Regions from separate parts of the Homo sapiens genome. Here all the other regions are linked to region 1. Evidence: promoter capture Hi-C in 16 types of primary human blood cells and fetal thymus (Javierre and others, 2016). All regions are on one chromosome and are shown on one strand. The core of a region is centred on a gene start or on the middle of the fragment in contact, and the rest is flanking DNA. Distances in the headings are between cores, read along the strand shown. Region 1 holds the start of MMADHC (metabolism of cobalamin associated D). Region 2 overlaps RIF1 (replication timing regulatory factor 1). Region 3 overlaps RIF1 (replication timing regulatory factor 1). Region 4 overlaps RIF1 (replication timing regulatory factor 1). Region 5 has its middle 9.6 kb from the start of RIF1. Region 6 holds the start of MIR4773-1 (microRNA 4773-1). Region 7 has its middle 9.0 kb from the start of ACVR2A.

The links. Contacts are between HindIII fragments. The CHiCAGO score rates a contact against its expected background, and 5 or more counts as called.
Region 2: a contact is called between a fragment that was not itself captured here and the fragment with the promoter of MMADHC in region 1, in 1 of 17 cell types (total B cells). The highest score is 5.1, in total B cells.
Region 3: a contact is called between a fragment that was not itself captured here and the fragment with the promoter of MMADHC in region 1, in 3 of 17 cell types (total CD4 T cells, total CD8 T cells and naive CD8 T cells). The highest score is 11.1, in total CD4 T cells.
Region 4: a contact is called between a fragment that was not itself captured here and the fragment with the promoter of MMADHC in region 1, in 9 of 17 cell types (naive CD8 T cells, total CD8 T cells, naive CD4 T cells and 6 more). The highest score is 17.7, in naive CD8 T cells.
Region 5: a contact is called between a fragment that was not itself captured here and the fragment with the promoter of MMADHC in region 1, in 12 of 17 cell types (naive B cells, total B cells, naive CD8 T cells and 9 more). The highest score is 16.5, in naive B cells.
Region 6: a contact is called between a fragment that was not itself captured here and the fragment with the promoter of MMADHC in region 1, in 9 of 17 cell types (naive CD4 T cells, naive CD8 T cells, monocytes and 6 more). The highest score is 9.9, in naive CD4 T cells.
Region 7: a fragment that was not itself captured here is called in contact with the fragment with the promoter of MMADHC in region 1 in 1 of 17 cell types (naive B cells); the score reaches 7.8 in naive B cells.

What each region holds. Positions count from the first base shown.
Region 1 is chr2:149,586,038-149,589,909 of GRCh38, forward strand. MMADHC (metabolism of cobalamin associated D) reads right to left here and starts at 1,738. Exons shown (of 8, transcript NM_015702.3): 1 at 1,627-1,738; 2 at 1,052-1,112. The coding sequence starts at 1,060. It overlaps MMADHC-DT (MMADHC divergent transcript), which reads left to right and starts at 1,321. Exons shown (of 3, transcript NR_110240.1): 1 at 1,321-1,813. RefSeq lists enhancers at 949-2,148, 1,465-1,784. The HindIII fragment of the contact is 5,011 bases long and covers 1,457-3,872 here.
Region 2 is chr2:151,469,570-151,473,441 of GRCh38, forward strand. RIF1 (replication timing regulatory factor 1) reads left to right here. Exons shown (of 36, transcript NM_018151.5): 34 at 142-295. Among named protein-coding and RNA genes, the nearest start is that of RIF1, 62 kb to the left of the region's middle. The HindIII fragment of the contact is 2,183 bases long and covers 989-3,171 here.
Region 3 is chr2:151,450,565-151,454,436 of GRCh38, forward strand. RIF1 (replication timing regulatory factor 1) reads left to right here. Exons shown (of 36, transcript NM_018151.5): 21 at 1,042-1,141. Among named protein-coding and RNA genes, the nearest start is that of RIF1, 43 kb to the left of the region's middle. The HindIII fragment of the contact is 5,678 bases long and covers 1-3,872 here.
Region 4 is chr2:151,419,108-151,422,979 of GRCh38, forward strand. RIF1 (replication timing regulatory factor 1) reads left to right here. Exons shown (of 36, transcript NM_018151.5): 7 at 1,083-1,272; 8 at 3,843-3,872. Among named protein-coding and RNA genes, the nearest start is that of RIF1, 11 kb to the left of the region's middle. The HindIII fragment of the contact is 1,722 bases long and covers 1,330-3,051 here.
Region 5 is chr2:151,398,412-151,402,283 of GRCh38, forward strand. No RefSeq gene overlaps it. Among named protein-coding and RNA genes, the nearest start is that of RIF1, 9.6 kb to the right of the region's middle. The HindIII fragment of the contact is 8,122 bases long and covers 1-3,872 here.
Region 6 is chr2:151,365,654-151,369,525 of GRCh38, forward strand. TNFAIP6 (TNF alpha induced protein 6) reads left to right here. Exons shown (of 6, transcript NM_007115.4): 3 at 403-564. It overlaps MIR4773-1 (microRNA 4773-1), which reads left to right and starts at 2,681; the gene lies at 2,681-2,758. MIR4773-2 (microRNA 4773-2) reads right to left here and starts at 2,758; the gene lies at 2,681-2,758. All of the region lies in intron 2 of LOC101929319 (a long non-coding RNA gene), which reads right to left. The HindIII fragment of the contact is 978 bases long and covers 1,672-2,649 here.
Region 7 is chr2:147,834,107-147,837,978 of GRCh38, forward strand. No RefSeq gene overlaps it. Among named protein-coding and RNA genes, the nearest start is that of ACVR2A, 9.0 kb to the right of the region's middle. The HindIII fragment of the contact is 840 bases long and covers 1,382-2,221 here.

The DNA.
Region 1 (3,872 bases), core at 488-2,987:
CAAAAATTCACCATAGAACTTGGCCAAGACTAGTAATCTATTCTTATGACTTGTCTCTATAGTCACACTTTAGACTTAATATACCATGTTCAATTACAGAAATAGCATCCTGGCTAAATGCTGCCATATAAATCTTCCTAGCACACAGCTCTAAGTGAATAATCACAATTTAAAGAATGAAGTCTAAATTACTGAGTTCGGCATTCAAGGCTCTCATTTACTTGGTACCAACCTCACAATTCAACCTTATCTCCCACTTATCTCTTTCATGCAGCTTACATTCAGGTTGGCAGGCAGCAGTCACTTTTCAGTTTTTCAAAGGGGTAGGCGGGTTGGGGAGTTCTTTGAATATACCTTCCTGTCCTTCCCGCTCATATTTTAGACTATACAAATCCCACCTATCTTTCAAACCTCAAGTTAAATGTTTCCCTCATGAAGTGATCCCAAACTCCTCTCCACAAAGACTTGAATCTGCATTGCACCTTCGTGTAGGTTCTAAAAAAAATTATTACTTTATACTTTAATTGTAGCTGTTTTTATATATGTCTTATGACCGCTACATATGAATTCTATAGATAGGATGTGTCTAATCACTGCAAAGTTACAGTCAATAAATATCTCTGGTGTGTGAGAGTATCTCCTATTCTTATTTTGTAGGATTTAGAAGGTCACTTCCAATATGGAAACTGTTTTAAAAAAAAGAAAAAAAGATTAAAAAAACCCTTCAGTTTAGCTAACCCAAAAGCTAAAAAAGGGCCTAAACATAGATTCTAATATTTACTGAAACGCTGTATTTAAAAAATACCGAAAGGGTGCTTGAATTTCCACATCTGTACAAATGAAATTGTATAAATAAGTGTATTTGCAGTGCAAAGAATGCTACCATCTTCAAAGCATAACATAATTTCACACCACTTGCTTCCCTTGACATTTTTGATACATTATATCTAACACTATACCACCCAATGCCATCATAATTAAACCCGTTCTTTCATTCCTAACATTCCCAAACGAGTTTACTATGCTGATTCTTAAGAGATAATTTACTCACATTGGCCATCTCCGCTGGAGAAGATAGTTCGCAAAATAGCTTTCCTTTGGTAAAGTTATTTCTGGGAAAGAACACAACAAAACAGACGAGTGATCGATTAAACTCTAACAACAGACAACTGAGGTAACGTCCACTCTTCGAAGGTGTGTCGTCCACCACGTCAGGACCAAAGTCCAAGCTCTCCCCGTACCCTAAGGAGGCCAGAACTCGCCCCCATGCCAGGCACAGATCCCCCAGCCCGGAGCCGGCAGTGCAGCTCAGAGCCCTTCCGGTTTACAGCCGCGGAAAAACAACTCGGACCAGATCCGGGAGGGGAATGGGGGCTGGGTGGCCAAAATTCAGTCCAGAGGATCGAAGCGGCTGCTTTAACAGAAGTTGGGGCTGCGTAACAACAGCTCCAAGCAAAGCTTCAGGCTGATCGGAAAGATGAGGAAGCAGAAAAGAGACTAAAGACAGACGGACAGGATGGCTGGGGACAACGACAGGGACCCAGTGAAAATACGGGCAATACCGAGGGCTGTAACCCTAACACGGGCAAATTTGGAGGGGCTAACATGGGCGGAAACCATCCGTACCAGTCACCACCACTGTCTCCAGCTGTCCCAGAACCGGACTCTTCCTGCCATCAAAATGGCGGCGGCGACGGCAGCGGTGGTAGCACCTACGCTGGCGGTGAGCAGGCAAAGGAAGTTGCTTCCGAGCGCGTCGAAACGATGATGCGCACGCGCAAAGTAGGCCTACGTGGAGCCGACCTGCCATTGGGTAAACGCAAGGGAGGAGAAAAGGTGGGGCAGGGGTGATTTGGGTGGATGGATAGGAGGGCTTCCGACCTGCGTTAGGCGGGTCAGTTAATCTTCAGTAACTCCTTGATGCGTTTGATAGTCCTCCCAACTTAAGCCTTCCTTACTGCCTCCAGGAGATACAGTCTTCTGTTCTTTTTGTCATAGTTGTTTATTTTTCATGAATCGCTGTTTTTGAGCATAGGGCACTTACCTCTTTCTGTGTCCCCAGCCCTACCACAGTGCCAGGCTCTCAATATGCTCGATAAATATTAGGCGATTGATTTGTAAATCGTGTATCATTTTCATGTATCTAATACTTTTTTAAAAATTGATTAAAGCCCATAAGCCCATATTTTATTCCAGATGTCCTTAGTTTTCGACCTGGTATTCTTTTCCATTCCAGGATCCTGTCCGGAGTACATCACCATGTCTTCCAGGCTCCTCTGGACCGTGACCGTTTCTCAAACTTTCCTTGTTTTTGATAACCTTAATAGTTTTGAAGCGACTTATTGGTCATTTGGTCAAATGTCCTTCAATTGGGTTTTGCCTGTATTTTTCTCATGCATTAACTGAGGTTATGGGTTTTTCTTGAGTTAAGAGGTAAGGTAAAGTGATCTTCTCATCACATCACATCAAGGGTATATACTATCAACATGACTTATTACTGTTGATGCTAACCTTTATCACCATTATTACAGTGTCATACAGAAAAGTTTTATAGTTCTACAAAGATCCCCTTTGTTTCATCTAGTAAGCCCTTCCACCTCCCTATGTAGGGTTTGTCAGGTTTCTCCACTGTGAAGTTACTGTTTTTCTTTTCCTCTCCATACTATACTATTTGGAAGGACATCTCTCTGTGCAGCCCAAACTATAGGAATGGGAAATTGTTATACTCCACCTTTATGAGGACAGAATATCTTCATGAATTATTTGGAATTCTTCTGCATGGGAGATTTGTCTGTACTGCATTTATTTATGTATTCAATCATTTATGTCAGTATGGACTCATGGATATTTATTTTACATTTTGGGTTATAATCCAATACTACTTTATTTTGTTGTTCATATTGGTTCCAGCTTTGGCTATTGAGATTTCCTTTAGTTGGCATTTGTGTCTTTTTGACAAACCCTCCTCGTTTTATGTTTATTGATTTTTTTTCTTGAGCATTTTCTTAATTTCTATAAGTTGCTCCAGGCTCATCTTGTATATTCCCTGCCCCAATCCTAGAATCAGCTGCTTCCCCAAAAAGCCAAGGGTACTTTTAATGGAAAATGATATTAGAAATCAAGATTTGGACATTTGGGATGTTGTTGCTTCTAGACACTCTCAGCTGACAGAGCAAGGAAATATTTGTGGATATGCTAACCTGACTAAATACGCATATCTGTAAGTATTTATATATGTATCCATCTGTATCTTTGACAGCTACACAGGCGTTCTAGGTTCAAATACTAGAGCTGTTATCTTCAGTTCAATTCCAGCACCATATGGATCATTGCAGCCTTCTCCCCTTGCTTGTCTGTAGCCTTCCACTCCAGTGTGAGACACCTGGCTCTCATCATCTGCCATCCATTTACCTAATTGTTCAATTCCAGGTTACGTGTATAATGGATTCAGAACCGTCAACCCGTATTCAGAGTACATGTATAGTTGTTTCTGAACTGTTATCAGGTATACCTGTGAGAAACAGATTTACCAATTAGAGTACAATGCTTATGTATAGTTCTTTTGCTTTTAATCTTATAGATTCCACTTATTTTCAAAGTTACTGAAGTCAGCAGCCCTCCCTCCTACCTCTACCCGGCCTCAGTGAAGTTATTTTATATGCTCGTAATACAGTTGTAATCTTTTGCCACAATCTGCATTACTCCTGGGATTCTTTGAGTTCCTAAGATTTTTTAAAAAATCTTCCTCCGTTTAGGTTCTGTTTGTGCAATCCTCATAATGCACATTTATTTTTTTCTTTTCCTGTACATAATAGCAGACAGCTGGTCAGTAGTGGGATAGAAGTAAAAATTTTTTTAACTTCAAATTTTCT
Region 2 (3,872 bases), core at 830-3,329, 1.9 Mb after region 1:
CACATACATGTGCCTGTCTTCACTGTGGGCTAACCTCAGTTATGATTGAGCTTAAATGGGGAAATTGAACTGGATAAACCCTTGCAAATAGCATATAAATAAAACTATATAATTATAATTTCCTGTTTCTGTTTTGTTTAGGGCAAGAGGCCTGGGACAACTCATTAGAGCTAAGAATATAAAAACTATTGGTGATTTGAGTACTCTTACAGCATCTGAAATAAAAACTCTTCCTATCCGTTCTCCAAAAGTGTCCAATGTAAAAAAGGCTCTCAGAATATATCATGAGCAGCAGGTAAAAACTTAGATATTAGCTATGATGTATATTAATAAATGATGTAGCAGTACAGTTACAGAAGTTTGTTAAAAGATCACTTCATAATGGCACAGGGAAATTGATTCATTTATTTTGTACTGTCTTTATGCATTGCACCTCAGATAAATTTTTAAATTGTTTTTTCATTAAATTCTGTTCATCCCCTTCTCTCTTTCATTTCCACCATTCGGTATTTGATTCCATGGCTGCTACTGCTAAAACCTAGATGTTCAAATCCAAACATCTACCAAAACCATACAGATTTGTAGGTCACAGTATTTTGGTTTGGATGCCTACCACATTTGTGACTTATTTTTCTTATTTTTCCTTTTTGTCAGTATTGTGCATATGAACATTTTGGGTCATGGGCATTTTTCAAGATTCTGATGAAAGCTAAGATTCTTCCCTGCTGTAAAACTATATAGAAAATTTTGTATATAATTTCAGAAGGATTCACAGACTACTGAAACCCATTCAGAGACCCTCTATCCATTGACACTACAGGTTGAGTATTCCTTATCTGAATTGCTTAGGACCAGAAATGTTTTGGACTTCAGATTTATTTCGATTTTGAGATATTTGCATTATGCAGCTACTTGCCAGTTTAGCAGCCCTAATCTGTAAATCCAAAACGCTCATTAGAGAATTTGGGCATCATGTCAGTGCTCAAAAAGCTTCAAATTTTGGATTCCATTCCATCCAAAAAAGATTCCATTTTTGGAGTAGGCATACTCAACCTGTATCAGAAGTTTTGAATAAATGAAAAATAGAATAAGCAGTGTTCTGAATCAGAATTTCTCAGACCTGGGGTTTGCCAGCCACTGAAGACTTCTGCTGTATTCTTGAAGGTCCTTGATTTTATATTAACTTATTTGTGATCTTCTAAACATTCATTAACTGGTTACTCAGAAAACCAATACTACTAGTAATTTTCTGTCTCACAGATTGAATTTAGTTTCTAAAGTATTTTCTTACTCAGTTTCCATGGGTCTTGGGAAAGTCTATGAGAATTAGGTTTTTTTTAACAGCTTCATTAAGATATGATTTACATCGTGTAAAATTCACCTACCCTATGGGTGCAGTTAGTTTTTAATATATTCACAGAGTTAAATAATATTCCCCATGATCTAATTTTGAATCTTTTTTTTTATCACCCAGAGAAGAAACACTGACCCATTAGCTATCACTCCTCATTTCCACTGTCCAGCCAATGCCTACTTTTCCTCTATAGATTTGCCTATTCTGGATATTTCATAAAAGTGGGGTCGTACAACTTGTGATCTTTTGTGAATGGCTTCTTTCACTTAGCATAATGTTTTCAAGGTTTATCCTCAAAAATTTCCGTTTTGAGGTTGAATAATTCTTTGTAGATTCTGGATATTAGCCTTTTGTCAGATGAGAAGATTGCAAAAATTTTCTCCCATTCTGTAGGTTGCCTGTTCACTCTGATGGTAGTTTCTTTTGCTGTGCAGAAGCTCTTTAGTTTAGTTAGATCCCATTTGTCAATTTTGGCTTTTGTTGCCATTGCTTTTGGTGTTTTAGACGTGAAGTCCTTGCCCATGCCTATGTCCCAAATGGTATTGCCAAGGTTTTCTTCTAGGGCTTTTATGGTTTTAGGTCTTACAGTTAAATCTTTAATCCATCTTGAATTAATTTTTGTATAAGGTGTAAGGAAGGGATCCAGTTTCAGCTTTCTACATATGGCTAGCCAGTTTTCCCAACACCATTTATTAAATAGGGAATCCTTTCCCCATTTCTTGTTTTTGTCAGGTTTGTCAAAGACCAGATGGTTGTAGCTGTGTGGTATTATTTCTGAGGGCTCTGTTCTGTTCCATTGGCTTATATCTCTGTTTTGGTACCAGTACCATGCTGTTTTGGTTACTGTAGCCTTGTAGTATAGTTTGAAGTCAGGTAGCATGATGTCTCCAGCTTTGTCTTTTTTGCTTCTGATTGACTTGGCAATGCGGGCTCTTTTTTCGTTGCATATGAACTTTAAAGTAGTTTTTTCCAATTCTGTGAAGAAAGTCCTTGGTAGCTTGATGGGGGTGGCATTGAATCTATAAATTACCTTGGGCAGTATGGCGATTTTCACAATATTGATTCTTCCTATCCATGAGCATGGAATGTTCTTCCATTTGTTTGTGTCCTCTTTTATTTCATTGAGCAGTGGTTTGTAGTTCTCCTTGAAGAGGTCCTTCACGTCCCTTGTAAGTTGGATTCCTAGGTATTTTATTCTCTTTGAAGCAATTGTGAATGGGAGTTCACTCATGATTTGGCTCTCTGTTTGTCTGTTATTGATGTATATGAATGCTTGTGATTTTTGCACATTGATTTTGTATCCTGAGACTTTGCTGAAGTTGCTTATTGGCCCAAGGAGATTTTGGGCTGAGACAACGGGGTTTTCTAGATATACAATCATGTCATCTGCAAACAGGAACAATTTGACTTCCTCTTTTCCTAAGTGAATACCCTTTATTTCTTTCTCTTGCCTGATTGCCCTGGCCAGAACTTCCAACACTATGTTGAATAGAAGTTGTGAGAGAGGGCATCCCTGTCTTGTGCCAGTTTTCAAAGGGAATGCTTTCAGTTTTTGCCCATTCAGTATGATATTGGCTGTGGGTTTGTCATAAATAGCTCTTATTATTTTGAGATACGTCCCATCAATACCTAGTTTATTGAGAGTTTTTAGCATGAAGTGTTGTTGAATTTTGTCAAAGGCCTTTTCTGCATCTATTGAGATAATCATGTGGTTTTGGTCTTTGGTTCTGTTTATATACTGGATTACGTTTACTGATTGTCATATGTTGAACCAGCCTTGCATCCCAGGGATGAAGCTCACTTGATCATGGTGGATAAGCTTTTTGATGTGCTGCTGGATTCGTTTTGCCAGTATTTTATTGAGGATTTTTGCATCAATGTTCATCAAGGATATTGGTCTAAAAATCTCTTTTTTTGTTGTGTCTCTGCCAGGCTTTGGTATCAGGATGATGGTGGCCTCATAAAAAGAGTTAGTGAGGATTCCCTCTTTTTCTATTGATTGGAATAGTTTCAGAAGGAATGGTACCAGCTCCTCTTTGTACCTCTGGTAGAATTCGGCTGTGAATTCATCTGGTCCTGGACTTTTTTTGGTTGAATAATATGCATTATATGTATATACCACATTTTGTTTATCCAGTTGACAGACATTTGGGTTGTTTCCACCATTTGCTATTACGAATAATGCTGCTGTGTCTGCAAGTTTTTATATGGATAGATGATTTCATTTCTCTTGTATATATACCTAGAAGTGGAATTGCTGAGTCATGTGGTTACTGAACTTATTATTTTCAGAAAGTTAACTTTCTGAACTTAGTATTTTCTCAATCAGTGGTCCATACGTCCTAGGAACACTTAAGAAAATTGTATCCTTTTTTTTTTTTTTTTTTTTTTAAATACAGTGTCACTGTCACCCAGGCCAGAGTGCAGGTGGGGCATGATCTCGGCCCACTGCAGCTGCACCTCCTGGACTCAAGCAGTTCTCCTGCCTCAGCCTCCCGAGTAGCTGGGATTACAGGCA
Region 3 (3,872 bases), core at 798-3,297, 1.9 Mb after region 1:
AAAAACACCATCCTGAGCAATAATTCTTTCTTTTTTTTTTTGACGGAGCCTCGCTCTGTCGCAGGCTGGCGTGCAATGGTGTGAACTCGGCTCACTGCAGCCTCCGCCTCCCGGGTTCAAGCAGTTCTCCTGCCCCAGCCTCCCGAGTAGCTGGGATTACAAGCATTCACCACCACGCCTGGCTAATTTTTGTGTTTTTAGTAGAGACGGGGTTTCACCATGTTGGCCAGGCTGGTCTCGAACTCCAGACCTCAGGTGATCCACCCACCTCAGCCTCCCAAAGTGCTGGGATTGCAGGCGTGAGCCACCAGTCCTGGCCAGCAACTTCTTTTTATGTTTTGTTTCCACTGGGTTTAGTGAAAACTTTTACTTCATAATTTTCAAGAGGAATTTGATAGAGAATCTGTGATCCTAGTATTTCCAATCTCAGTTTATTGGTTGATATGATGGCTTTTATGGGGATCTTAAAAGTGAATTATTTTTCTTAAATATTGAGGAAGAGAAAGTACAGTGTTTGACTCAGCAGTTAACTGAAAAAGATTTGTAATCATGTATGGTCATGCGCCTCATAACAATGTGTCAGTCAACAACAGACCGCAAATCTAGTGCTACATATCCTAAGCAGAACGTTATAATACGGTATTTTTACTGTGTCTTTTCGATGCTTAGATACACAAATACATACCATTTTGTTACAGTTGCCTAGAGTATTCAGTATAGTAACTACACACCTATACAGGTGCCTAGGCTATGTGTTTGTAGCTTAGGAACAACAGACTATATAGGTGTGTAGTAGGCTGTATCATCTAGGTTTGTGTGGGTACACTGTGTTCTCACAAGATGAAATTGCCTGATGACCCATTTTTCACAGTGGATCTCTGTTAAGCCGTGGGTGGCTGCACTTAATGTACTGTAAGCTGTGGCATGTGTGTTACATAGGATATATGGGAGTAACAGTCTTATATTTTTTCATGTTGCTTACTTTTGTTGAATACTGTCCCAGTACTTGAATGTTTCTAACAGTGGTACTTTCTTCCCTAGAATTTGTTGTTCGTGGATAGAATTATTTATATTATTACTGTAATGGTTGATTGCATTGACTTCTCACCATATAATATTAAATATCAGCCCAAAGTTAAATGTAAGTATGTATTTTTTAACCTTTGTTTGTCCAGTATTTCATAAGCAGTACTGAACTTTGCCAGGGGAAGTCCTAATACCTTTGCCACCTCATTTTACTAACTTTTGATCTTGTTTAACCATGTTAGTTACTATGCTAGGAGCTTTCATACATGTTCTCTCTCTTTTTTCTTTTTAATTTTCATATGCTCTGTATCATTCTCTTATCTCTATCACACAAAATTTCTTTACTCCTTTTTACAACGCAGAAAGATAAATACTATTCTAATTAGAGATTGCCTAATAGTACAAATGGTTTTACTCATTCCATCTGGTATGAAGGATTACCTGGACAAGAAACTTAGACATAACTTAAAATGTTTTTATTTGCAAGCCTGATTTAAAATAGTCATTGAATTGACATTATAATTTAAAAGAAAACAATGGGATCAGTTAATTGGTTATTTTTTTCCAGAAATGTTACAAAGTTTAACTCATCGTTTACCTGAAACATGGTAATTAAATGATTAAAATTGGACAATTGGGATCATAACAAGTTGCGTGATTTTTAAAACCATATGCCTTGGTTAGTTTTAAGTTATTTTGTAGCAAATAGTTTTTAAAATCTGTTAATTGATTCATTGAAGTCAGATATATCCACCTATGTTTATATGTTCTTACCATATAGGTAGTGATAATCTGTCATTAATGAAAAATGTTAGTTGATGTTGAGATATATTATTCTTGTTTAAAGATTAGGGACATAAAATTATCTAACAATAAGATTTGCCATTGATGAGTTTTCTAAAACATTCTTAGAATCTTTTTTGGTTTTTGAATTTTTACTAAGTAGCAATATGGAGTAACATGTTAAGCTCCTGAAGTATATTATAGGTCAGAGCATCCCGGCCTGAGTGCCGTGGAAATATAGGTTATAGATGTTCTTGACATACTGATCTTAGCTCTCCTCTTGGTCTGACCAGGACCTAATATGATTACCTCAGTGTGTCAGAAAAATAGGCTTATCTCTGAAAATCATAAGTTTACCAAGATTATATAACAGATGATGTCAGAAATTATAAGCCACTGAAGTTTCATAGAGCGAAGATGATCAGTCTCATTTTGACATAATTTTACCTATGTTGGTACTTCTGAAATTAGATTTAACCGAATATCCAATTCAGGAACCCACAGTTACAAATGTCTTTTCCACTCCGTGTCCATGCAAAACAGAGCCAGAGTTCTCTTGCTGTAAAATTTGGGTAATGGGGAGATTTTTAAAAGAAGTTGAGAAGAGGAAACAATGTTAAGACTAACCGAAAGGAAATTGTTATTATCAGGATCACCTTGGGATTTTTTGGTGACTTACATTGTGATGATTTCAAATTTAGAGAAATACTGCAAGAGTTTATGTGGAAACTTCGTATTCCTTTACTCAGGTTTCTCAATTAATGGTTGATTGCATTTATCTTATCTGCTCCCCCCTCCCCCCAGAATATACATTTTATTCTTTTTCCCTTCTGAACCATTTTAAGGTATAGTTTTAGACAAGTTGACAACCTGGAACAGTTCCTCAGTCTTGTCTTTTATGTCTTTCAAAAAACAACTTTAGGCTGGGTGCAGTGGCTCACGCCTGTAATACCAGCACTTTGAGAGGCCGAGGTGGGTGGATCACCTGAGGTCAGGAGTGCTAGACCAGCCTGGCCAACAGGGCTACAACCTGTCTCTACTAAAAATACAAAAATTAGCAAGCCATGGTGGTGCGCGCCTGTAGTCCCAGCTACTTGGGAATCTGAGGCAGGAGAATCTCCTGAACCCAGGAGGCAGAGGTTGCAGTGAGCTGAGATCATGCCACTGCACTCCACCAGCCTGGGCAACAGAGCTAGACTCTGTCTCAAAAAAAAAAAAAAAAAAAAAAAGGCAATTTTACTTTCTTAGAGTCTCTCAATCTGGGATTACCATATTGCTTTAAGATTAGATTCAGGGTCCATTCATTACTGGAGTACCACAGAAATAATGCTGTAGTTCTTTTTCAATTCATTATTTTCCCATTACTGGTGATGTTAACACTTCCTGTTTGTTTGAGGATGGCATCTGCCAGGTTTTCCACTGTAAGGTTAATTACTAAATACTTACTGTGGCACAATTATTGCTTGTTTCTCTAGATACACTTTCATTTACCATCTAATATCACATGGATTATGCTATTCATTCCTTTTCTGTATTTTTCTCTACTGTCTCTAATAGTGAGAAACCTGGTTTTCATTACCCTCAATGTATTTACAACTTGATCATTCACTTGTATGTAACCAGTCTCCTGACATAATGGCTGTCACCTCACCTCAGCATTCTGTCAGGGAATTTCTGGATATAGTTTTTCAGTGTACATAAATGTCTGAAAAATTGATTCCAAGGAGAAAGATCAACTTCCTTTTAGTAGCAACACTTGTTTTTCATGTTACCATATGAGATTAATTTTAATTAAGCATTCGTTTTCTGTTAAATTTGAGATCTCATTCCTTAAAAGAATGGATTGATTGAGAGAAACAAGTAATTTTGGAATGGGTAAATTTTTTGGGCAAGGGCTATGTGGGTTTATTCTTCTAGGTAGATGTTTACAGAGGGATTATCTAAGGGTACAAAAAATCAGACAGTACTTTTAGGACAAATCTTTTTCTTTATATCTAGGAAATAGTAGACTTACTGCATTCTTTCTCAGCTTTGTATCTCTGACTTGTTCAATGTTATTTGTA
Region 4 (3,872 bases), core at 941-3,440, 1.8 Mb after region 1:
GCAGTAACATGCATGGAGCTGTCATCTTCTGTGATTGATGCTACCTTCTGGAGTATCTGCTGAAGGACCCTCAAGGCTACTTTGCAGTTAACTTTTTTTAAATACAAGTAGGAGTAAACTCTAATGATAAAAATTATAGTGTAGGAGTAAACTCTAATGATAAAAATTATAGTGTAGTATATACATAAACCAGTAACTTAGTCATTTATTTTTTGTTTTTTTATTACTATTTTTTTTGAGACGGAATCTTGCTCTGTCACCAGGCTGGAGCGCAGTGGTGAGGTCTTGGCTCACTGCAACCTCCGCCTCCCGGGTTCAAGCAATTCTCCTGCCTCAGCCTCCCAAGTAGCTAGGATTACAAGCATGTGCCACCACACCCAGCTAATTGTTGTATTTTTAGAAGAGACAGGGTTTCACCATGTTGGTCAGGATGGTCTCGATCTCCTGACCTCATGATCCACCCGCCTCGGCCTCCCAAAGTGCTGAGATTACAGGTGTGAGCCACTGCACCCGGCCGGTCATTTATTATCATTATCATATAGTACAGTATTATGTTCTATATGTAAATGCGCCGTACTTTTATATGAATGAGAGCGCAGTAGATTTGTTTACACCAGTGTCATCAGAAACATGAATAATGTATTGCACTGCAGTGTTACAACAGCTATGATGTCACTAGGTGATAGGAACTTGTCAGGTCCCTCATAATCTTATGGGACCACCATTGTGAATGTGCTGCATCTTTGACCAAAACGTTGCTCTGTGGTGAATGACAATACTGTCCTTTTCATATTGGACTTGAGCATTATTGTGAGGTCCTGGAACCAATCCCCCAGGGATACTGAGGGATGACTGAAATGTTTCAATCTAAAGACAAGATTGGTTCTTTAAAAAAAATTTACAAAAGCAATAATGTGCAAATTCGTAAAAATAAGATCTATTTCTTGTGTGTATATGCATATTTGTATATATTCTAAAACAAATGGGCCGTACTGTGTATATTTCTGTTTCACCTATTTTACTGCTTGTTTAGACTTAAAACATGAGGTCACGCTAATTATTCATTGATTTCTCTATTATAGGCTAATTGAACAAGCCCCAATTCAAATGGGAGAAGAGGCAGTGAGGTGGGCAAAACTGGTCATACCTTTAGTGGTTCATTCAGCACAAAAGGTACATTTGCGGGGAGCAACTGCTCTGGAGATGGGAATGCCATTATTGCTTCAGAAACAGCAAGAAATAGCATCTATTACGGAGCAGCTTATGACTACTGTGAGTGTTCTTTTATGTAAGAATTTTCTGGATACTGCATCGGAAGGTTCTGCACTAAGCTTAAAATTCAGTCTGGTGGCCAGGTACGGTGGCTCTCACCTGTAGTCCCAAAGCGGGAGGCTGAGGTGGGAGGATTGCTTGAGGCCAGGAGTTCCAGACCCATCTGGGCAACATAGTGAAGACCCATCTCTACAAAATATCTTAAAAATTAGCTGGGCGTGGTGGCATGCGCCTGTAGTCTCAGATGCTTGGGAGACTAAGGCGGGAGGGTTGCTTGACCAGAAATTTGAGGCTGCAGTGAGCTATGATCTCACCACTGCATTCTAGCCTGGGTGACAGAATGAGACCCTGTCTCAAAAAAAAAAAAAAAAAAAAATCTGTCTGGGCATATTGGTATAGTTGCACTATGATATAGGATTTTAGCTTTGAATCAAAACCTTAAGAGTTGCATAAGTTAGCAAAGGCACATTGCTCATTACATAGTAGTAAGGAAGGGAGCTATCTATTGTTGCTAAAATCCAGACATTTTACTTCATTCCCAATAAATAGGAAATAGGAATTGTATTTCTGAAAGAGGGAGAGCATTAACTGATTGACTCATGTTTGGGTTGTTACTGTATAATCCCAGTAGATACAAATTTAATGTACATAAACTTACCTAGTCTCTATAGTTTTCTAGTTATTACTTGCCACAGGTTTTAGGTTTTCTAACCATTGTTGTTCTAACATATTTACTGGGCATCTGATATGTGCAGTGCATTGTTGCAGGCGCTGTGAATATAGCAGTGAACAAAAGAGGCTTGATGGAGCTTATTTTCTTGTGGGAGAGATAATTAAGTACATAGTGTAGTAAGTGAAGACCACTAAGGAGAAGAGCAAGGACCGGAGAGTGCTGTGAGAAAGGAATGTAAGGTGGTCAGAGAAGGCAAAGGAAAGGACATTTGAACAGTGATTTGAAGGCAGAGTAGGAGTTACCCATGTAGATAAAGAACCAGACAAGAGAACTATGAGGGCAAAAGGCCCTGCTCTAATGGTTGTGTACCTGGTTGGTGTTCTGGGAACTCTGGGCAGTATGACAGTAGTGGAGTGAATGAGAGTGAGAGGAAAAGAGGGCCCAATCACATAGGACTATGGCAGGGACCATTGTAAGGATGGATTTTTACTCTAGATTACATGGAAAGCCATATTTGAAGGTCTTGTTTTGTTTTTTGTTTGAGACAAGGTCTCACTATATTACCCAAGCTGGTCTCGAACTCCTGGGCTCAAGCAATCCTCCCACTTCACTCTCCCAAAGTGTTGGGATGACAGGCGTGAGCCACCACACCCAGCCCCTAAAACCTGGGATTTTACTTGCTTAAAATGCAGAAGACTTCGTGGTAATGTTCAGTATGACACAGTAACTCGAGTGTCTCATAAATAGCTTTATTCTGATGAATTCAATTTTAGTGACATATATAATTTTTTTTTTTTTTTCGAGACAGTTTCGCAATTGTTGCCCAGGCTGGAGTGCAGTGGCGCAGTCTCAGCTCACTGCAGCTTCCACCTCCTGGGTTCAAGCGATTCTCCTGCCTCAGCAGGAGTAGCTGGGATTACAGGCACCTGCAACCATGCCCGACCGATATTTGTATTTTTAGTAGAGATGGGGTTTCACCATATTGGCCAGGCTGGTCTCGAACTCCTGACCTTGTGATCCGCCCGCCTCGGCCTCCCAAAGTGCTGAGATTGCAGGCATGAGCCACTGCGCCTGACCATAAAATTCTTTCTTTAACCCATTTATCAAGCTTGCAACAAAGCATATATGAAATTCTTTATATAAATTTGAGCTAAAAATTATTTCACGTGTCTGTTGATTATGAAGCTATTAATGTATTTTTTCATTATTGTGAAAAAATACAGTGTCATTTAAACTAGTTAATGATATGCATGCTGACATTTTTAGGGTAAAGTATATTGGTAGAAAAAAAAAGTTGGATTGATGGATGGTAGGATGGCCAGATAGGTGATAAGACCAACATAGTAAAGTGTTAATGGTAGAATCTGAGTGTTTGTATTAGAGCATTTACTGTAAAAACTCACTCGGATTTGCTATATGCTTCAGTTTTCCTTTTGGAGTCTTTTGGGAAAATTTTTTTTTTTTTTTGAGACAGTCTTGCTCTGTCGCCCAGGCTGGAGGACAGTGGCACGATTTCTGCTCTCTGCAACCTCCACCTCCCAGGTTCAAGCAATTCTCATGCCTCAGCCTCCCGAGTAGCAGGAATTATGGGCGTCTGCCACCATGCCCAGCTAATTTTTGTGTTTTTAGTAGAGACAGGGTTTCACCATATTGGCCAGGCCAGTCTTGAACTCCTGACTTCAAGAGTGAGGCCGAGGCAGGTGATTCTCCTGCCTCAGCCTCCCAAAGTGCTGGGATTACAGGCTTGACCCACCGCACCTGGCCTTGGGTGGGGTAATATTTTTATTATGGAGAAAACTATTTGGTTGAATCAGTTTTTGAAAATTATTCCTAGACTTTGGTATTGGATTTTTTTTTCTAAGAGTCTGTTTGGTAAATTAATTGCTTTTGTTTGCAGAAATTAATCTCAGAACTTCAGAAGCTATTT
Region 5 (3,872 bases), core at 663-3,162, 1.8 Mb after region 1:
AGAGTGATTAATCCTGCCTATGAGTAGCCCTGATGATGAAGTCAAATTGGATTTGCTTTCTTTTCTTGTTTTATTTTGTTTCATTTTTTCAAAGAGATTAGGTCTTTTTATGTTGTCCAGGCTGACCTCAAACTCCTGGGGTCAAGGGACCCTCCAACCTCAGTCTCCTGAGTAGCTGGGACTACAGGTGCATGTCACCGCACCCAGCTTCAAACTGGATCATTTTTCTAAAGTGCGTGATTATGTTCTTTCTCCAGAAGGCCTGAGCATAACAATGAGTTAGGCTTCCCTTTTGGCTCCTCAAGGTTCAGTTTTCATAGTTTTGTAGCTCTTGAACTTCTGAAAATTTTTGTTTTCTCTCCATGAATATATTTTAGATGGAGACAAAGAATTTGTGCCATACATAGTTGGGTTCTTTTGGAAACTGATATTTGTATTCCAATTACAATAAATTTAATAGTTGAACTATTTTATCAAAGTTATAGAAAACGTGTGCCTTGAACATAGCAGGAATCTCAAACTTTGGTGCTGCCAAGAATAATTTAGACTGCATATCAAAAATGTAGGTTAGTAGGCTTATCCTGAGAGGTATGGTCCAGATATTTACATATAAAGAAGCTAACCTGGGATTTTCTGACGCAATGATCCCAGAACCACACTTTCAGAAATATAACATTAAATTATTACTGATAGATTGTAGTCCCTTTTTTTAAGAGACAGGGAAGTCCAGGCATGGTGGCTCACACCTGTAATCCCGGCACTTTGGGAGGCCAAGGCAGGCCTATCATCTGAGGTCAGGAATTAAAGACCAGCCTGGCCAACATGGTGAAACCCCGTCTCTACTAAAAATACAAAAATTATCCGGGCATGGTGGCGCATGCCTGTAATCCCAGATACTTGGGAGGTTGAGGCAGAAGAATCGCTTGAAACCAGGAGGCGGAGGTCGCAGTGAGCTGAGATCATGCCACTGCACTCTATCCTGGGCGACAGAGCGAGACTTCGTCTCAAAAAAAAAAAAAAGAGAGAGACAGGGTATTGTTATGTTGTCCAGGCTGGTCTCAAACTCCTGGGCTCGAGCAATCCTTCCGACTCGGCCTCCCAAAGTGCTGGGATTACAGGCATGAGTGTCCCATATTTTTAATGTGGTCTAGGAAACCCATTTCAATGGAAAAGTGCTTCTTTATTTTTATTTTTATTTTTATTTTTAGATGGAGTCCTGCTCTGTTGCCCAGGGTGGAGTGCAGTGGTGCGATCTCAGCTCACTGCAACCTCCACCTCCTGGGTTCAAGCGATTCTCCCGTCTCAGCCTCCGGAGTAGCTGGGATCACAGGTGCCTGCCACCATGCCTGGCTAATTTTTGTATTTTTAGTAGATACAGAGTTTCACCATGTTGGCCAGGCTGGTCTCAAACTCCTGAGATTCTGATCCGCCTGCCTCAGCCTCCCAAAGTGCTGGGATTACAGGCGTAAGCCACTGCGCCCGGCCTGAAAAATGCTTCTTTATTTAGAAGGATTCATGGTTTTGAAATGTGTTGTTCTATTTAAACCCAAGAAATAATGTTTGAATGGCTAACATTTTCCTGAAGATTTATAGCACATGCCCACACACTGTTCTTAGCAAATTCCATGTATGTATTAACTTACATACTCTTCAGAAGCCTATGAGGTTAGTGCAACTACCCCCATTTTACAGATAAGGAAACAGGGGCATAAGAGGTCAAGTAACTTGCCACAGTCACACATTAGTCCCATAGCTAATAAGTGGTAGAGCCAGGATTCAAACCTTCTCAATCAAGCTCCAGGTTTAGTCATTACACTATGAACTCAAGAGGACTCAATTTTCGCACCTAAAAAGTAGTTTGGCCATAAATGATAGGAACTCTCTGCCCAACTCAATGGAGAGAGTGAAACTGTTTGTCTAGATAAGGCCTTTGGTCTGTTAAAGGACTAAAGCTCTGCTTGGTTAATACAATTTATTTTATTTTATTTTATTTTATTTTCAGACAATCTCACTCTGTTGCCCAGGCTGGAGTGCAATGGCATGATCTCAGCTCACTGCATCCTTCGCCTCCCAGGTTCAAGCAATTCTCTGCCTCAGCCTCCCAGGTAGCCGGAATTACAGGCGCTGGCCACCACACTCGGCTAACTTTTGTATTTTTAGTAGAGATGAGACAGGGTTTCACCATATTGGCCAGTCTGGTCTCGAACTCCTGAACTCAAGCAATCTGCCCACCTCAGCCTCTCAAAGTGGTGGGATTACAGGCGTGAGCCACTGTGCCTAAGTAATACAATTTATTTTTATCTTTTATTTTCTTATTTTATGAGATGGTCTCTCATTCTGTTGCCCAGGCTGGAGTGCAGTGGCACCATCTCAGCTCTGCAACCTCTGCCTCCTGGGTTCAAGCGATTCTCCTGCCTCAGCCTCCTGAGTAGCTGGGACTACAGGTGTGCACCACCATGCTCAGATAATTTTTGTTTATTTATTTATTTATTGAGATGGAGTCTCGCTCTGTCACTCGCCCAGGCTGGAGTGTGATGGCGCGATCTCAGCTCACTGCAACCTCCACCTCCTGGGTTCAAGCCATTCTCCCACCTCAGCCTCCTGAGTAGCTGGGATTACAGGTGTGCACCACCATGCCCAGCTAATTTTTGTATTTTTGTAGAAATGGGGTTTCACCATGTTGGCCAGGCTGGTCTTGAGCTCTTGACCTCAGGTGATCCACCCACCTCGGCCTCCCAAAGTGCTGGGATTATAGGCATGAGCCACTGTGCCCAGCATATTTTTGTGTTTTTAGTAGAGACGGGGTTTCACCATGTTGGACAAGTTGATCTGGAACTCCTGACCTCAAATCATTCGGTTGCCTCGGCCTCCCAAAGTGCTGAGATTACAGGCGCCAACCACCATGCCTGGCCAGTTAATACAATTTGATGACACTGTGAAATTTGAAAGTAAGGATAGACAATTTCATGCTAGTCATAAGGCATGTTATTAGCTATGTATATTCATTATATATGAACTAGTGATAGGATGAAATAATTATAAAAAAGTTTTTTCGTCTATTATCTGTTTTGTTGTTGTTGTTGTTGTTGTTGTTGTTTGTTTTAGACAGAGTCTCACTTTGTTGCCCAGGCTGGAGTGCAGTTGCACTATCTCAGCTCACTGCAACCTCTGCCTCCCAGGTTCAAGTGATTCTCCTGCCTCAGCCTCCCGAGTAGCTGGGGTTACAGGTGCGTGCCACCATGCCCGGCTAATCTTTGTATTTTTAGTAGAGATTAGAGATGGGGTTTCGCCATGTTGACCAGGCTGGTCTCAAACTCCTGACCTCAAGTGATCTGCCTGCCTCAGCCTCTCAAAGTGCTGGGATTATAGGCATTAGCCACCACACCTGGCCATGTATTAATTCTTGAAAAGTCGATCAGGGGATCAGTTAAAATTAAAATGCCAAAATAGACCTCAAAGTGTGACTTTCTTTAAAAAGAAAAAAAAAAGGGTGACTTTCTTTAAATAAAGCCAATAAAATAGTTATCATCTTGGGCAGTATTTCAGATGTCTCTCAGAACCCTTATAACTTCACATTTTCAAGGGTATTTATTGAAGTTTTTTTTATTTTTTTTATTTTTTATTTTTATTTTATTTTATTTTATTTTTTAGACAGAGCCTTGCTCTCTGGCCCAGGCTGGAGTACAGTGGTGTGATTTCAGCTCACTGCAACCTCCGCCTCCTGGGCTCAAGCAATTCTCCTGCCTCAGCCTCCCGAGTAGCTAGGACTACAGGTGCACACCACCATGCCCGGCTAATTTTTGTATTTTTAGTAGAGATAGGGTTTCACCATGTTGGCCAGGCTGGTCTGAAACTCCTGACCGCCAGTTTTC
Region 6 (3,872 bases), core at 911-3,410, 1.8 Mb after region 1:
AAGATATTACAAATATCTTAATTGATCCTAAAATAGAAATTAAATTACCACTTGAAAATATTTTTTCAAAATTGATAATTTCAGAAATTGTCTCATGGCATTCCATACGTCATTTGTGAAAAGAAGCCAGCTCTGAACTTGGATTAGTTTCATACCCACAATAATTTGTAGTCCATTTGCATTTTTTTCAAGTAAGAGGTAGTTTTCCAATAAAAATCAGAAGTTATATTTCATGTGTATTCACACTTTGTCTAATTAAGGAAGCAATTTTCTCCCTTTTACATGAACTGGATTTGACCAGTTAAGAAACTTACTATTGGAAGTGGCTATCTTTGCTAAGATGACTTTTGCTTAGCCAAGACAGTTTACCTGTTTAGTCCATAACTCTTTTTCTTCTTGCAGGATTTCATGTCTGTGCTGCTGGATGGATGGCTAAGGGCAGAGTTGGATACCCCATTGTGAAGCCAGGGCCCAACTGTGGATTTGGAAAAACTGGCATTATTGATTATGGAATCCGTCTCAATAGGAGTGAAAGATGGGATGCCTATTGCTACAACCCACACGGTGTGTTAAAAATAATAATTTTATGTTTTGCAAAAACAGTTCCATGCTGCTAAGAGGTTGTTAAAAAAGAAATGGCTACTTTTTCCAGAAATAATTGATTTTGGTAATAATAACTACTACTAATAACTACAATTCATAAAGTGCTTATACTATACCCGACATTGAGTTGTGTTCCTTCGTCTACACTCTAACTTAATATTCACAATAATTCTTCAAGGAGCTATTGTTATACCTATTTTAGAAATCAGGAAATTGAAACTTAGAGAATTAAGTAACCCCAAATCAGGAGTCAATAATGATTAGGCAGATGGGACTGAGAATTCAGATCTTCTCTGTGCCAGGGAACTTCCCAGCCATAAAGAAAAAGAAAATAAAAAAGCAGATTAAAAACTTGTCACAGTAAATTAGCTAAAACAATAAAGTGATGCTACCAAATGGTAACTATTCAAAATTGTCCTTTTGATACAACGGGGAAAAGGAGACAAAGTAAACAAATAAATTCTTTCCTTAATTTCTTTTTGTGTATATATGCTAGTACTTCCAAACTAAGCAACTCTAATTCTATGGTTTAACAATTATATACTGTATATACTAGCTATCATTATACCATATATTTTTATTCATATTTTTTCCATGTTTGCTTGCAACTAGGAAATAATGAGAAAATTAACTCATAATTACTATAAAGAATTATTCTTAGGTCACGTTCTTGGAGAAAAAGTAGGCTGTTCTTTTTGGGTATATTTCCACCAGGACAATGTTACAAAATATTACAGTATGTTACAAAGTCTTCCTGGCATTTAGGATCATAAACATCCTCAGATGTGTCCCATTTGGATTTACCCTATAAGAAATTCCATAACACAGTAGGAGAGTTACATAGTGAGGTTTTAGTGTATTATTATAAAATCTATTATTTAATTATATTAACATTTGGAGAATAGTTTCTCATGTCTGTAACTAACCTATATCTCAAAATTATGTGTAGTCCAAGTAGAAAGATTTTTGCCTACAGCTACAACTAGTCTTAACTGAGACAAAATAGGAATAAATACTTAACAGTGCATTTATGTAACTTTAACTTTCAAGTCACTTTGACATGCTTTAAGCTTATTTAGTCCTATACTATACAGTACTAATTTAGTCCTATATTTAGTTATGTCAACAATATGTATCTTCCTTTCCTCCCTCCCTCTCTTACATTTTCTTAAATATATTTATGCAGACCACTCTTTTTTACTCTTAAGAGTAACTCTTCTTTTCAAATGTATTCTCTGATTCTTCTTTCACTTGATAAACTTTAGGATCTCTGAGCTTCCACTGGATAATTTCCATAGATTAAACTCTAGAGTCATTGAAGAAGTGCCAATGAAATGGTCCTTTCAGTATTTCATTGCCCTTTCATAAGAATATAATCCTAAATTATAAATTATTATAAGTTGCTTTCTTTTCTCAGAGAGGCTGAATACACTCTGGGAATACAGAATCCTGGGAGATTTGTTTTTACCCAATTCTCAGTGCATTTAGCTCGCTTTTGGATTTGGTGGTATGCTGACTATTTAGGATGTGGTTAACTTGAAGGAGACTTGACCGCCTGAACTAGCACTGGGGGAACAGCTCACTGAAACATCACTGGAATAAAAAAAAAAAATAATGGCTTCACAAAAATAAAGCAATCATTATTGATTAATCAATGTCACCAAGTTAGAGCTGATATTCTAAATAATAGATGAGGCAGTAACTAGATATAACATAAAATATAGATCTAAATAAATATAGCCAAATAGGCAGCCAAATTAGTTCAATATTTGAATTTTTTCTAATCTATTAATATATACAACAAAGATTGGATGCTATGGGATGGAACAACTCGCTCCTAAAGCTGGCAATGTACATCCTTATGCAGACATACAAACTATGTGTTGTATATTTTATTATACAGTAAGAATAGCTTATGGGTTGCATAACATCCTTAAATTATTTTCTGTATTTTATCCTTAGAATAACCCTGTGTGATAGATAATGGGAAAGGTATGGCTACATTTATTTTACCAATGAAGAAAATGAAGTGTAGAGTAGTCACCAAGCTTGAACTAGATCCTTGACCTTCATTTGTTGCTCCCCAGCCTTTCTATGCTCCTGTTCTGCTTTATTTCATCAAAGCAGAACAGGAGCATAGAAAGGCTGGGGAGCATCTTTTTTCTAGACATTAGACACTTACCTGATATGGAATTAAAATTAACCAGGGCTTCTTCCTAGCTTTCCCTCTAGGTCATATTGCAAACCACTGATTCTGAGACAGCGTTTTTGTTTTGTTTTATATGTGTTTGTTTTTCTTATGACAATTTATAACATATTGAAATCTGTTAAATGATGAATGACTTGGAAAAACAAACATGAATATCTCCATCAAATCTTAAAATATTAGGATTAGGGTATTAGTTTAAAATCAGTAAAGGCAGTATACAGAATAATTATAAATTATTCCTTTTAAGTGGATTAGAGTGACTTTAAAGTCTCTTGCGATCATGAAATTGTATAATGATTTTCCAAGCAGAATTTATGGGATCCATTATTCTAAGTGCTTGTGGCCCTGAAGACATATGGTGACACCACAGGGCAAAGTCCCTACCATCTTGATAGGGCTGTTTGTAATATAAATGTGTATATATTTGTCAAAATACATAGACATAGGCCAGGTGCCATGGCTCACACCTATAATCCCAACACTTTGGGAAGCTGAGGTGGGTCGATCACCAGAGGTCAGGAGTTCAAGTCCAACCTGGCCCACATGGCAAGACCCTATCTCTACTAAAAATACAAAAATTAGCCAGACGTGGTGGCTCATGCCTGTAATCCCAGCTACTCAGAAGGCTGAGGCATAAGAATTTCTTGAACAATTGCAGAGGCTACAGTGAGCCGAGATTGTGCCACTGCACTCCAGCCTGGGCAACAGAGTGAGACTCCATTTCAAAAAACAACAACAACAAAAAATAGGCGTGTGCACAAAAGACTTGTTATGTTATGCCTTAAAAGATAAAATAAAAATATTTTTAAAAGTACAATTAATTACATTACAATTCTTTTAATTTTAAAATTTATTTTTATTTTTATTTTTTAGAGCTGGAGGTCTCACTATGTTGCCCAGGTTGGCCTCAAACTCCTAGGCTCATGAGATTCTTCTGCCTCAGCCTCCCAATTAGCTGGGACTAAGGGTGAGCATCACTACACCTAGCCATTTTTTTCTTACTATATTTACTTTTTTAAAATTCATGGCTGGGCACAGTGGCTCATGTTTATAATCTCAG
Region 7 (3,872 bases), core at 552-3,051, 1.8 Mb before region 1:
CATGTTTAAATATGAAACATTAAGCTTAGGTCTAGAAACTAGAAAAAAAAAGAAAACAAAAATAAAAACGAAAAAAATCCTTACATTCTCTTTTAGTGTGAGTCTACTAGCAACAGACTTGCTCCAATTTTGTTTGTCTGAAAATATACTTATTTAACATTCCTTTTTGATGGATATTTTTATGATTATAGAATTCTTGCTTGGCAATTGTATTCTTTCAGAACTTTGAAGATGTCATTCCATTGTTTCCATAGTTTCCATTGGAAAGTCAGCACTAAGTCTTATTTTTACTCCTTTGAAAGTAATGTGTATTTATTCTCTATTGTTAGTATTTCATTTTTATCATTGTTTTTCAGATGTTGGACTACAATGTTCTAGGTGTATTTATAAACAAATTTATCCTGAATACAGATTGTGGAGCTTCTTGAATTCATGACTAGATTTCTTTCATTAGTTTTGTAAAATTAGTTGCCAACAGCTTTTCAAATGTTGCTTTTGTTCAATTAATGTTCTCCTATCCTTCTGGGATTCCAGTTACAGATACGTCAGAACTTAAATTGTCCTACATATCTCTTATGATCTCTTCTGTATTTTCTATCCTTTTTACTCTCTATCCTTAAATCTGAGTATTTACTATGTCCTTCCTCTCAATTCATTATTTTTTTTTTGCCGTGCTTGATCTACTATATACCCATATTTTAATTTATTATAATTCTTCTAATTTTGGTTACAGCATTTCCATTTGGCCCTATGTTTTACGTGGCTGGTAATTTTTTAATGAATGCTGGGTATTGTGAAAAATTGCAAAAACTCTCCATTAAGTTATCTTTTTCCAGAAAGAATATAACTTGCTCCATCAGTCGTATAATATATGGATTTATCATACCAATTTAGTCATGTTGGATTTCAGATTTTAGGGGGCTCATCAACTTCCAGTTTGTCCTAAATCTTAAAGCTTAGCCTTTACTTTGCAAAGAATAGTCTTCTTGAGTTCTCATCTGAAATCCTGAGGTATTTTACTTGGACTCTCCCTCCTTGGTGGTCCCCAAATTCCCATCTCTGGTTCCCAAGGTCTCCAAAATTGGCAAAATCTTGGCTAAACTCTTTAACCTCCAGCTTGCTCCTTTACCCTTAATTTCTCTACATTTCACCCTGCATAGTTGAGGAGTCAGCACTGCCTTGAAGGGATATTGCACAGAATTTTGGACTCCCTTTTGGTTTTCTCAACTCCTGGACCTTAGTTCCTCAAGTCTTAATCACTTTGGCACCTCAAACTCCAACATCTGTCTCCCTAACCCAGTGAAACTACATAAGCCCAGACTGCTACTTTCTTCTTAGCCTCTATTACTCGTGCCATGTATCTGCAAGTACCAAAGTGAAAAGCTTAGGTGAATGTGGGGCTCAATTCAATATACTTCTCTCCTCTCTGGGTTCTTTGTCCCCCCAGTACTGTCTTCCTTAGTTCCTCTCTAGTGGCTTCAAATAGTTGTTGAATAAATTATTTTAAAATAGTTGTTCATAATAGGAGAGTTAATGTAATACAAAGTATTCTATCATAGCCAGAAGCGGAAATAGAATTATTTACTTTTAATTTGCAATTTAAAAAGAATCTACTTTCAATAATCTTCTCATTTGTGGTTTTAAAATTACAGAGTCAAAATTGAGTGAAAAACAATTATGTACCTGGGTGGACTTGAAATAAGAGAAATGAGTCAGGAAGGCATTTATTCAAATAATAAATAAAATTTGTACAATTGCTATTTTTCTATGATTAGCCTAAATAACAAAGGGTAAATTGGATGCCTGAATTATCTTGGTGTTTATCTGATACAGCAAATTCACCATTCTGTGTAACCCAGGTCCAATGATAGCATTGAAAAACAATATCAGACATTCTTTTGGTTTTATAACTATAAAGTTTAGTGCTTTTTCTGTAACAGTTATTTTGTATTACTTTTCAAATTGATACCAGTTATTTCCTCTTTAACAAAAAGGCAAGTTTAACAGTTCTGTGGCCGGGGGGTGGTTTTATTTGTTTGTTTGTTTTTGTTTTTTGTTGTTGTTGTTGTTTGTTTGTTTTAACTAAGTAAAAGAAGTAGGTCTTTTTACTGTGTTGCATAGGTCTTCTGGATGGGACATGCTCCATTTAGAGTTCTTTTTCCTGCTTGAAGGAACAATTAATATGCTTACTACTTGAGAAACAGCATGGCTCATTGGACTAAGCTTTGAGTCAGTAGTTTGGAGTTATAATCCCATTTCTGCTACGGATTCAATTTGTGCCCCTGGGCAAGCCATTTAACCTTTGTATTTGTTCAGCAGAAAATAGGATAAAATTATTACTTCATTTCAGGAGTAGCTAATAATAACTGCTTTTGAATATAAAGAAATGCACATAATGTATTTTGACCAGTTAAAATCACTGCAAACATTCCTACAATTTAGTTTCCCCTAAAGCTTCAGTATGGCTTTGATTAAAATTCTTCTGATTTAAGTTAAAATGAAGCACAATAAAGTGCAGTTAAGTGTTTTGTTTAATTTGCATTCTTAAACAGGTGGGCAAATCCAGTGTAGTTAAGCCTAAGAAAACAAAAATTAAAAAAAAAAAAAAAGAAAAGAAAAAACAATCGCTCTTTCCTTACAGGCTTTAAAAAAAAAAAATGGTAAAAAGTACTCTATATCATTCTCTGTCACCAAAGTGCAAAAATTTACATTCATACCAAATAATATTAAACTTACACCTATTATTTTTCTTTTCTTATTTATAATTCTTTAGAAATAGAGTATTAAATAATAATTATTCCTAAAATGTTATGATAATTTTATCTCAGCACAGATTGACTCATCCAACACCCTGGATACTTTGACATCCCAATTCTTGGACCACCTCATCACCAGTGACCATTTTTTCTATCACTACTATGGTAACTCCCTGGCCATTGTCATTATCAGACACAATTCCTCTCCAAAACCTTGTTAATTTCTAGTCTCTGGCCATAGCTCCTATCCTTCTAGCTCACTTGCTTAAATATCTGCCAAGAAGCAATGGATCCTCCTACTGATGTCAGTTCTCTAATCCAGCGGTCCCCAACCTTTTTGACACCAGGGACCGGTTTTGTGGAAAACAATTTTTCCATGGGGGTATTGGATAATTTCAGGATGAAACTGTTTGACTCAGGTTATCAGGCATTAGAGTCTCATTAGGAGTGCACAATTTAGATCCCTTGCATATGCAGTTCACAATAGGGCTGGCGAGAATCTAATGCTGCTGCTGATCCCCGGAGGTGGAGCGCAGGTGGTAATGCTTGCTGGCCTGATGCTCACCTCCTGCTGTGCGGCCTGGTTCTTAACAGGCCACAGACTAGTATAGGTCTGCGATGTGGGACTTGGGGACTCCTGATCTAATCCATTCTCCTATCAATTCTTTCTATCCACATAGCCTCTTCTAGACTGTCCTTTCTTTTTGTCCAACTCAAATTCTGTGAGTCATTGTTCCAATGGCTCCCATATAATTCCCATAACTTCTTTACCCCTCACTTTCTCAAAATCACTTACTTAATAAATCCAGCCATGTAAGAACTCAATCATCTGCCTTCTCCGTGCCTGCCAACACCTCTACGTTGCAGAAAATAATCACACAGCTGGGTAGACTGGAGTCACCAATCTCAAATGGGCACTCAACCCTGGCAATTCCACTATAAAGCCTCTCTCTCCAGTCTCACTTAGGACTCTTTCATACCTTTTCATCATGCCCCTTTCACTTTAAGGTGAAAACCTTGCTTTACATGTCAGAGAAAAGAAGAGCCCTCAGCTGGGATTGCCATTATGCTCCAATGTTCGGTTCTGTAAACTCATCTGCTTCTGCAAACTCATCT